Linked DNA regions of Homo sapiens: region 2 is linked to region 1. Evidence: promoter capture Hi-C in 16 types of primary human blood cells and fetal thymus (Javierre and others, 2016). All regions are on one chromosome and are shown on one strand. Each heading gives the region's core, a stretch centred on a gene start or on the middle of the fragment in contact. The rest is flanking DNA. Distances are from core to core; before and after follow the strand shown.

The links. Contacts are between HindIII fragments. The CHiCAGO score rates a contact against its expected background, and 5 or more counts as called.
Region 2: a contact is called between a fragment that was not itself captured here and the fragment with the promoter of SAMD5 in region 1, in 3 of 17 cell types (megakaryocytes, erythroblasts and endothelial precursors). The highest score is 8.7, in megakaryocytes.

What each region holds. Positions count from the first base shown.
Region 1 is chr6:147,506,538-147,510,298 of GRCh38, forward strand. It overlaps SAMD5 (sterile alpha motif domain containing 5), which reads left to right and starts at 2,153. Exons shown (of 2, transcript NM_001030060.3): 1 at 2,153-2,850. The coding sequence starts at 2,392. RefSeq lists a silencer at 305-354. The HindIII fragment of the contact is 12,433 bases long and covers 1-3,379 here.
Region 2 is chr6:147,968,739-147,972,710 of GRCh38, forward strand. No RefSeq gene overlaps it. Among named protein-coding and RNA genes, the nearest start is that of SASH1, 370 kb to the right of the region's middle. The HindIII fragment of the contact is 802 bases long and covers 959-1,760 here.

The DNA.
Region 1 (3,761 bases), core at 903-3,402:
GTAATTTCCCAATAAATATTTGCTGATAATTTCTGTTTCTTAGCAGCATCATTCAAACTGCTGAAATATTTTCTTTAAAAAAAAATCAAAGGTCCTTCTGAGATAGTATTGGGATATAAAGATAAACGTGACAAAAACATTTGTGCTTCAAAGGGGAACCAGTATAAAGCCATAAAGCCCACTTTCTTCTGCTGAATAGAATGAGTTTGGGGACAGGGACAACGCCTTAAAATGGGTCAACGCGCGGACGCGAGGGGGCACTGTGAGTCCGCTTTGGCGAGGGAGAGGCGGCGGCCCGCGCGGGGCGGGGAGGGCTGCGCCCTTCCAGCATCCCAGCGCCCAGGAGCTTCGCCACCTACCAGGGTCCGAGACCTTAACTCGGTTCCGGAAAGGGCGTCCCGGGTGACCCAAGTTTGGGGCCACAAGCAGCTCCACCGGCTCTCCGCGTTGGTCTCTCCCCTCCCCCTAAGCAGACAGTCCTTTCTGCCAGCTGTCCTTAATTTGAGATTCGTGAGTCCCGGGGTTTGGGAAACCAGAACCCCCCTGCGACTGTAGGGAACGTTTTGGGTGCGCCTATGTCGGGTATTTTCCTGGGCAAAAGGACAGAAGCTGTCATCTGATTCTTTAAGGGGTTCGTGTCCCAAGAGGGGGTTAAGCTCTCTTGGTTTAGGATAAGAGGGCCCACCTAACCACCCACCCAAATGCCAAACACACAGCAGGTCGAGAAACGACTCTGAAATCACTCCTTGTCCACTTCCCAAGGTCGGGCGAGAGACTGGCACGCCCCACGGGCAATCTTCAGAAAAAAAGGTCAGATCTGGTCCTTAAACAGCTCAGGTGCGAAGCTGAATCGCCCTTCTGCGGAAAGAGAGGAGACAGTACCTGCCCCCGCCGTCCCTCACTTCCCTTAGTCCCAAGAAGAGGTCAGACACCGGGAAATGGGGCCCAGGCGCTTGGTCTGTTCCACCTGCCACTCGAGTCCCCAGTCCCAAGAGGCTGCTCAGACATTGGCATGATGGGGAAACTCGATTGATTTTGTTACCTCCTAGAGGGAAAATGCCGTGGGCGGAGATGTCTGAGCGTCCCTTCCAACACGAGCTGGGTGGTGCTCTATTGATTTTCACGCGATCCCCGGGCGGGAGCGAGAGGATAGGCTCGGATTCCCGGGCTCCAGGACCGAACGCCTGGCAGTGTCCCCGGGGGCAAAGCCACCCCGGGAGCCCGTGCAGTATACTAGGTGGGGGGCCCGGAGAGAAAGCATAGCGCCGACGAGGGGGAGGGGCCGGGCAGAAAGGAGGGTGGGGTACCGGGTGGGACACACTGACCTAGGAGAAAGTACAACCCACCCCAAACTTTCGCAGACCCGGGAGCTTAGGAAGGGAGAGCCAGGAAGACAGCAGCCTCTCCTGCCGCCCAACGTGCCCAGCTGCAGCGAGGAGGGGCGGCGCGCAAGCCGGCTGGACCCGGGCGGTCCCCACGTTGCGCCCACCCTCCGGGCCAAAACGCCGCCGCTCGGGTCACTGAGTGGCCGCCCACGGAAGAAGTCAGATCGCCGGGCTCTGGGCTGCGTACGGGATCCGAGGAAGGGGGATTCAAACGCGGATCCGGAAGGAAGGGACACTGAACCCCGCAGCGTCCCCAGCGCCGTGGGGCGGCGGGACGTGTCCTTGGGCTGCCAGCGGGCGCGGAAGCTGGAGTCCGGCAGGGTCGGGAAGAAGTGAGCACAGACTTCCACGGGTAGAAGAGTCAGATTAAACAGAAATGTGAAAAGCAACCCAGGGCAGCCAACGGAGCCCAGCAGCGTAGAAGCCACCGGCTTCCCGCCGGGAGGACTACAGTGACTGACACTCGCGAAGACTAGGCGCTCCCAGCGGCCGCGGGTCTGCGTGGAGAAGTCGCCTCGCGGCGCGGAGCGCGCCAGCGGCGGCGGCGGCTGCCAGAGCGCGAGATGCGGCGCGCAGCCGCCGGACCGTCCCGGCTGGGAAAACTCGCGGGCGGCACTGCGCAGCGCTGACCCGGCGCAGGTCCGAGGGGTGTGCCCCGGCCCCTCCCGTCTCCGCCCCCTCCCGCGCCAGTCGCGCGCCCCTCCCCGCGGCGGCAGCGTCGGCGGCGCATCCAGGGGCGGCGCGGAGCCTTGCTCAGCCCAGCAGCCAGTGCCTGCGAGCTCCGCTGCTGCTTGGGGAATTCACTTTGCTGCTTGTTCGCTTCTCCCTTCCTCAGGCTTCTTCTGATGGTTTTCCGTCTCCTGCCCGAGCCTTTCCTTTAAAAGGAAAACTTTACTGCGATACCCTTTTCCCCTTGGAGGAGAGGATTAAAAGTTCCAAGAACTGGTGCCGCCCGTGCCATTTGGGCGCTGGGAAGGTGCTCGGCGGCGGGGTTCCCGGTCCCACCATGTGCACCAACATAGTTTACGAGTGGCTCAAAGCGCTGCAGCTTCCGCAGTACGCGGAGTCCTTCGTGGATAACGGCTACGATGACCTGGAGGTGTGCAAGCAGATCGGGGACCCGGACCTGGATGCCATCGGGGTGCTGGCGCCCGCGCACCGCCGCCGTATCCTGGAGGCCGTGCGCCGGCTGCGGGAGCAGGACGCCAACGCCGCCGGCCTCTACTTCACGCTTGAGCCGCAGCCGGCGCCCCCCGGGCCGCCCGCCGACGCCGTCCCCACCGGCCGCCGGGGGGAGCCGTGCGGCGGCCCGGCCCAGGGCACCCGCGGGGACTCTCGCGGCCACACGACCGCCCCCCGCAGCAGGGAGCTGGTGAGCTACCCCAAACTGAAGCTGAAGATCATGATCAGGGATAAGCTCGTCCGTGACGGCATCCACCTGAGCAAGCCCCCGTACTCCCGCAAGGTAAGGAGGTGCCGTCCGGGCGGCCCGGGGCGCGCGGCGGGAGGGGACACAGCCCAGCTGCCTGTGCCAAGGCTTTGCAACCCATTCCAGGTGACGACGGAGAGGCCAGGAGGCTTTGGGTATCTGGGACCCTTTTCTATGTTCTTTCTGTATTAGCCCATTATTTCGTCCTTCCTGGTGTCTCCAGTGGTTGGTAAGACAAGCCCCCGCATCCAGATGTTATCTCTAAACTAACGACCAAAACTCCGCATCCTCTCTGGTGCTCGCCTGTCAGGAATCGGACTCGCGCTGCTTCACCTGGTAGCCAGGGGGAATTCCTAACGCCCTCTATAGTAGTTTTGGGTTTGAAGAGTACCAGAAAAAATGGTTAATACCTACATTGCTTTCTACCTTCCTTTTTCTCTTTCTTTTCCTTTTTTGAGTCTTGAGAAACTCCTAAGGGAAATCGGTGAACTCTTTAAAGAGTGGAAAGTCAGGCCCTGCCTTTCTCAATTCCATAAAAAATCCCAGCGCTGCTGCAAATTTGAGAAGCTTACCATTCACATGAGCATTTTAAGAGGAAAAGTGAAGGAAGCACGTGTCAGTCCACTTGAGATGATTTCCTAAACTTGTGTATACTGGAGGCAATAAGGTGCTAAGGACATCAGAGATAATCGGGCCACAGGATGTGCTTCAGAGGTCTGGGCTGTCACGAGTTTGGTTTATTATTAAGCCAGATAAGATGAAGTAGGTACAACTGTGACTTCCAGGAAGTGTGAGTGGACCTGCATTTGGGAGAGGAGGACCGAGCACAAGTGAACTAAAGGGGAATCCTCTGCACCGGGGGCCTCAGGGAAGGAACCTGGAAGTTCCGAAATGTGGAGTGGGAGCTGGGTAATTAACAGAAAATGGTACTTCACACCAGAGCTCTG
Region 2 (3,972 bases), core at 110-2,609, 460 kb after region 1:
CCCTCTGCTCTGTGCTCCCTTGCATCCACACGTGCCAGTGGTGAAAAGTTCATTCAGAGAACTCAGGTTACATTTTCTTCATAGTCTTTGGCATCAGAAAACGGTCTCAACCCAGGGGCAATTTGTCTTAAATGACTTCCACTGCTGACATGTCTGACCCAAAACGTCCCTCCATATGGAGCTCTGAGTAGACAAACTATTTCTTTTTTTTTTAATTTAATTTTTTAATTATACTTTAAGTTCTGGGATACATGTGCAGAACATGCAGGTTTGTTACATAGATATACACATGCTATGGTGGTTTGCTGCACCCATCAACTGGTCATCTACATTAGGTATTTCTCCTAATGCTATCCCCCTCAGCCCCCCAGCCCCCAACAGGCCCTGGTGTGTGATGTTCCCCTCTCTGTGTCCATGTGTTCTCATTTTTCAACTCCCACTTATGAGTGAGAACATGTGGTGTTTGGTTTTCTGTTCTTGTATTAGTTTGCTGAGAATGATGGTTTCCAGCTTCATCCATGTCCCTGTAAACACATGAACTCATCTTGTTTTATGGCTGCATGGTATTCCATGGTGTATACGTGCCATATTTTCCTTATCCAGTCTCTCATTGATGGATATTTGGGTTGGTTCCAAGTCTTTGCTATTGTGAACAGTGCTGCAATAAATATACATGTGCATGTGTCTTTACAGTAGAATGATTTATAATCCTTTGGGTATATACCCAGTAATGGGTCAAATGGTATTTATGGTTCTAGATCCTTGAGGAATCACCACACTGTTTTCCACAATGATGGAACTAATTTACACTCCCACCAACAGTATAAAAGTGTTCCTATTTCTCCACATCCTCTTCAGCATCTGTTGTTTCCTGACTTTTTAATGATCACATTCTAACTGGCATGAGATGGTATCTCATTGTGGTTTTGGTTTATTTCTGTAATGACCAGTGATGATAAGCTTTTTTTCATATGTTTGTTGGCCACATAAATGTGTTCTTTTGAGAAGTGGTATACAAACTATTTCTAAGCAGTCAGGTGATGAAAAGAGGATCTACCGATATGTTTTACAGTCCTAGAAGGTATCTGGAGTCAGGATAAAGCAAAGTCTAAACCATGGGTTTAAGAGGCCAGAGCTGGATAATTGTAGTTCTTTCCTTATGTGAAAATTTGAAAGCTGAGTGATCTGCAAATGATGGGAAATTAGTTTAAAAGCAGAAAAATAGAGTTCTTCTCTCATCTTTTCTCAGCAATTTCTATAAGCCAAAAAAATTGTAGGTTTTTCAAGATGTGTTTTGAAAGATATTAGGATTCATAAAAGATTATTATGTGCACATATAGTAAATGAGATGAAGTTCTATTCTGTGGTCATTCATAAATGTTTAGTGACACGCCCTGCACTGTCAGGACCTAGTTAATAGAAGCTATAAAAAGCAGCAATCCACAAAAACACTTTTGGGATATTTTGTGTGTTTTGTGAAGAATTTTTCATGTGGGTTTTGATTGCCTCATTGAGATGACCATAGTAATATGAACAAGAAACAATATTTTGTACATAACGTACACTGGGAATCTAATCAAAGCATTTGAAAAGATAGTGACAATAATAAATGTAAACTATTAATATTATTGTTTGGGACATCTGTCAAACTGTATTTGGCCTCATACTTCCCTCATTGGAACATTTGAGCCCTCATCAATCACACATCATTCCCAAAGGCAACAAATCATAATGGCTATTTCTCCTTTAGGACAAGGCTAAGCTTAAAGAATTTAAGTCCTGCCAGTGGCAGTAAGACTAAGTGCTAACAGGGGAAAGATATAAAGAGTTTTTTTTTCTTTTTGTTAGGAGCATTAAAAACAGTCACCAAACCATTGATTTTGATTTAACAGCTTACAAAGCTTCATTAAAAAGATTTTATATGTTTTCCTTTTCAATTCCCAACAATGAAAAGAACTTACTTATTATTAAATCTGTATTTTGTACAGACTTCTTCCTTATATTTCCAAGAAATAATTTTATATATGTATATGTATGTGCATGATTGTTTGTTCCTGTCTTTTTTATTCCTCATAGTATAATTGTAGAGTTTATCTTTAGTCCAAAAACTAGATAAAATCTTATCAAGGTAATTTAACTAATTCCTCGACTCCCTTTGGGACATTATCAAGACATTTGAGACTTATATGAACCTAAACCTTACAGACAAGCATTACCTCATACCTTATAGCCACACCTAGGTCTAAACATTGTAGACATACCTAGGCCTACACTTTATGGACACATATTGGCTTGCAGCTTTTAGGCCCTTAGAAGCTGATCTTTGATAGATATATATAGATCTATAACCATGTACATAGACTTCTAGGGGCCTATACCTTAGAGACATGTATAGGACTTTACCTTATATACACATATAAGCCTGTAGCTTGGAGCCACCTAGAGGCCTAGACATATAGAAAGGACCAAAATTCCTTGATGAACATTTTAAGGGCTAAGCATGCACCGTTGAGATGTTCTTATAATCACAGACTTTTCCAACTTAAAGGTTCAACATCCTAGGATCTCTCTCCCTCTGAATATTTGATGGACAAGGAAATTGAGACTCCAGGTGATTTGCATTAAGCTTGCAGATTTGATGATCAAGGACAACTCTTAAGTGTTCTGATTCTAGGCCAGTACCTATGCTCTAAGAGCATAACCACAGCTGTTCTTTGAATACAGAATGTACAGACATTCTGACCTCAGCATAATATGCTAGATTTGGAACCTGATTGGTGCAATAAATATGAGTAGATAAATTGATCTTATTCATAAGTTGAAATTCATATATTGAAATCCTAATACCCAAAGTGATGGTATTGGGAGATGGGGTCTTTGGAAGGTGTTTAGGTCATGAAGATAGAGCCCTTATTAATGGGATTAATTCTCTTATAAAGGAGACCTCCTTGCCCCTTCTGCCATGTAAAGACATAGTGAAAACGATGACTGTTTACGAAACAGTAAGTGAGAGCTCACCAGATACTGAATCTGCCTTGATTTTGGACTTCCCAGCCTCCAGAGCTATGAGAAATAAATCTACTGTTCATGAGCTACATAGTTTATGGTATTTTTTATAGCAGACAGAACAGACTAAGAACAAACCATTATTGAGCAACCTTTTTTATTTCTAAACCTCCCTCATGTTATGTTCCTTTATATGTAGATATCTAAAAACCTACCCCAGTGTCAAAATGGAGTCTCTTAAGATAGCCCAAGGCATTCTGATATTTTTGCAGTTAATACATTTCATTTAAAACATCACTGAGGCAGATTGTTGTCAGCTTGTAATTTATTTAAATTGGTGTTAGTTTCATTTCCATTTCTGTGGTCTCTGGCTTAGCATTTCAGAGGCAGAAAGCGAATCTGAGTTCAGAAAATGCCATATTTGCTTTTGGAAACATATGTTAAATCTTGCAAGGCCTATAAGTAATGACTGATTTCAAAATTAAAAATAAATAAAGAAACCCAATGGCAAGGCAGGTACCTTATTTTCAAATAAGAAGGTGAACATTTTTAGAAGGGCTGTCTTGGATATTGGAAACTGCCAAGCAGGCCAGTGCAGTCTGGGGCTAGCATGAAGTATTGATTCAGATGTCATAATTAAATGAGCCTGAGACTGAGCTCAGATAGACACTCTTTGGAAAGATGGATAAAGAGTCAGGAAGAGATATGAGTTAGAGTCTCTTTCCCTAATAGTACTTGTCAGAATTTCAAGGGTGAGAGGTTCTATCAATTGGAACAAGAACGGCGTGGGTGTGATGGGATTTGGCACCTTATCAATTCTCTCCCTTCTAAGAGAACATGTGTGACATCTGTGATTTATTTCTGATCTACCAGTCTGGTGAGCATGAGTCTTGAGTTTGCTGCCAAATTACTGCACTCGTCTACATGCTAAAAGGCTGCTGTCACATTTAAGACTGTCAGAAATTC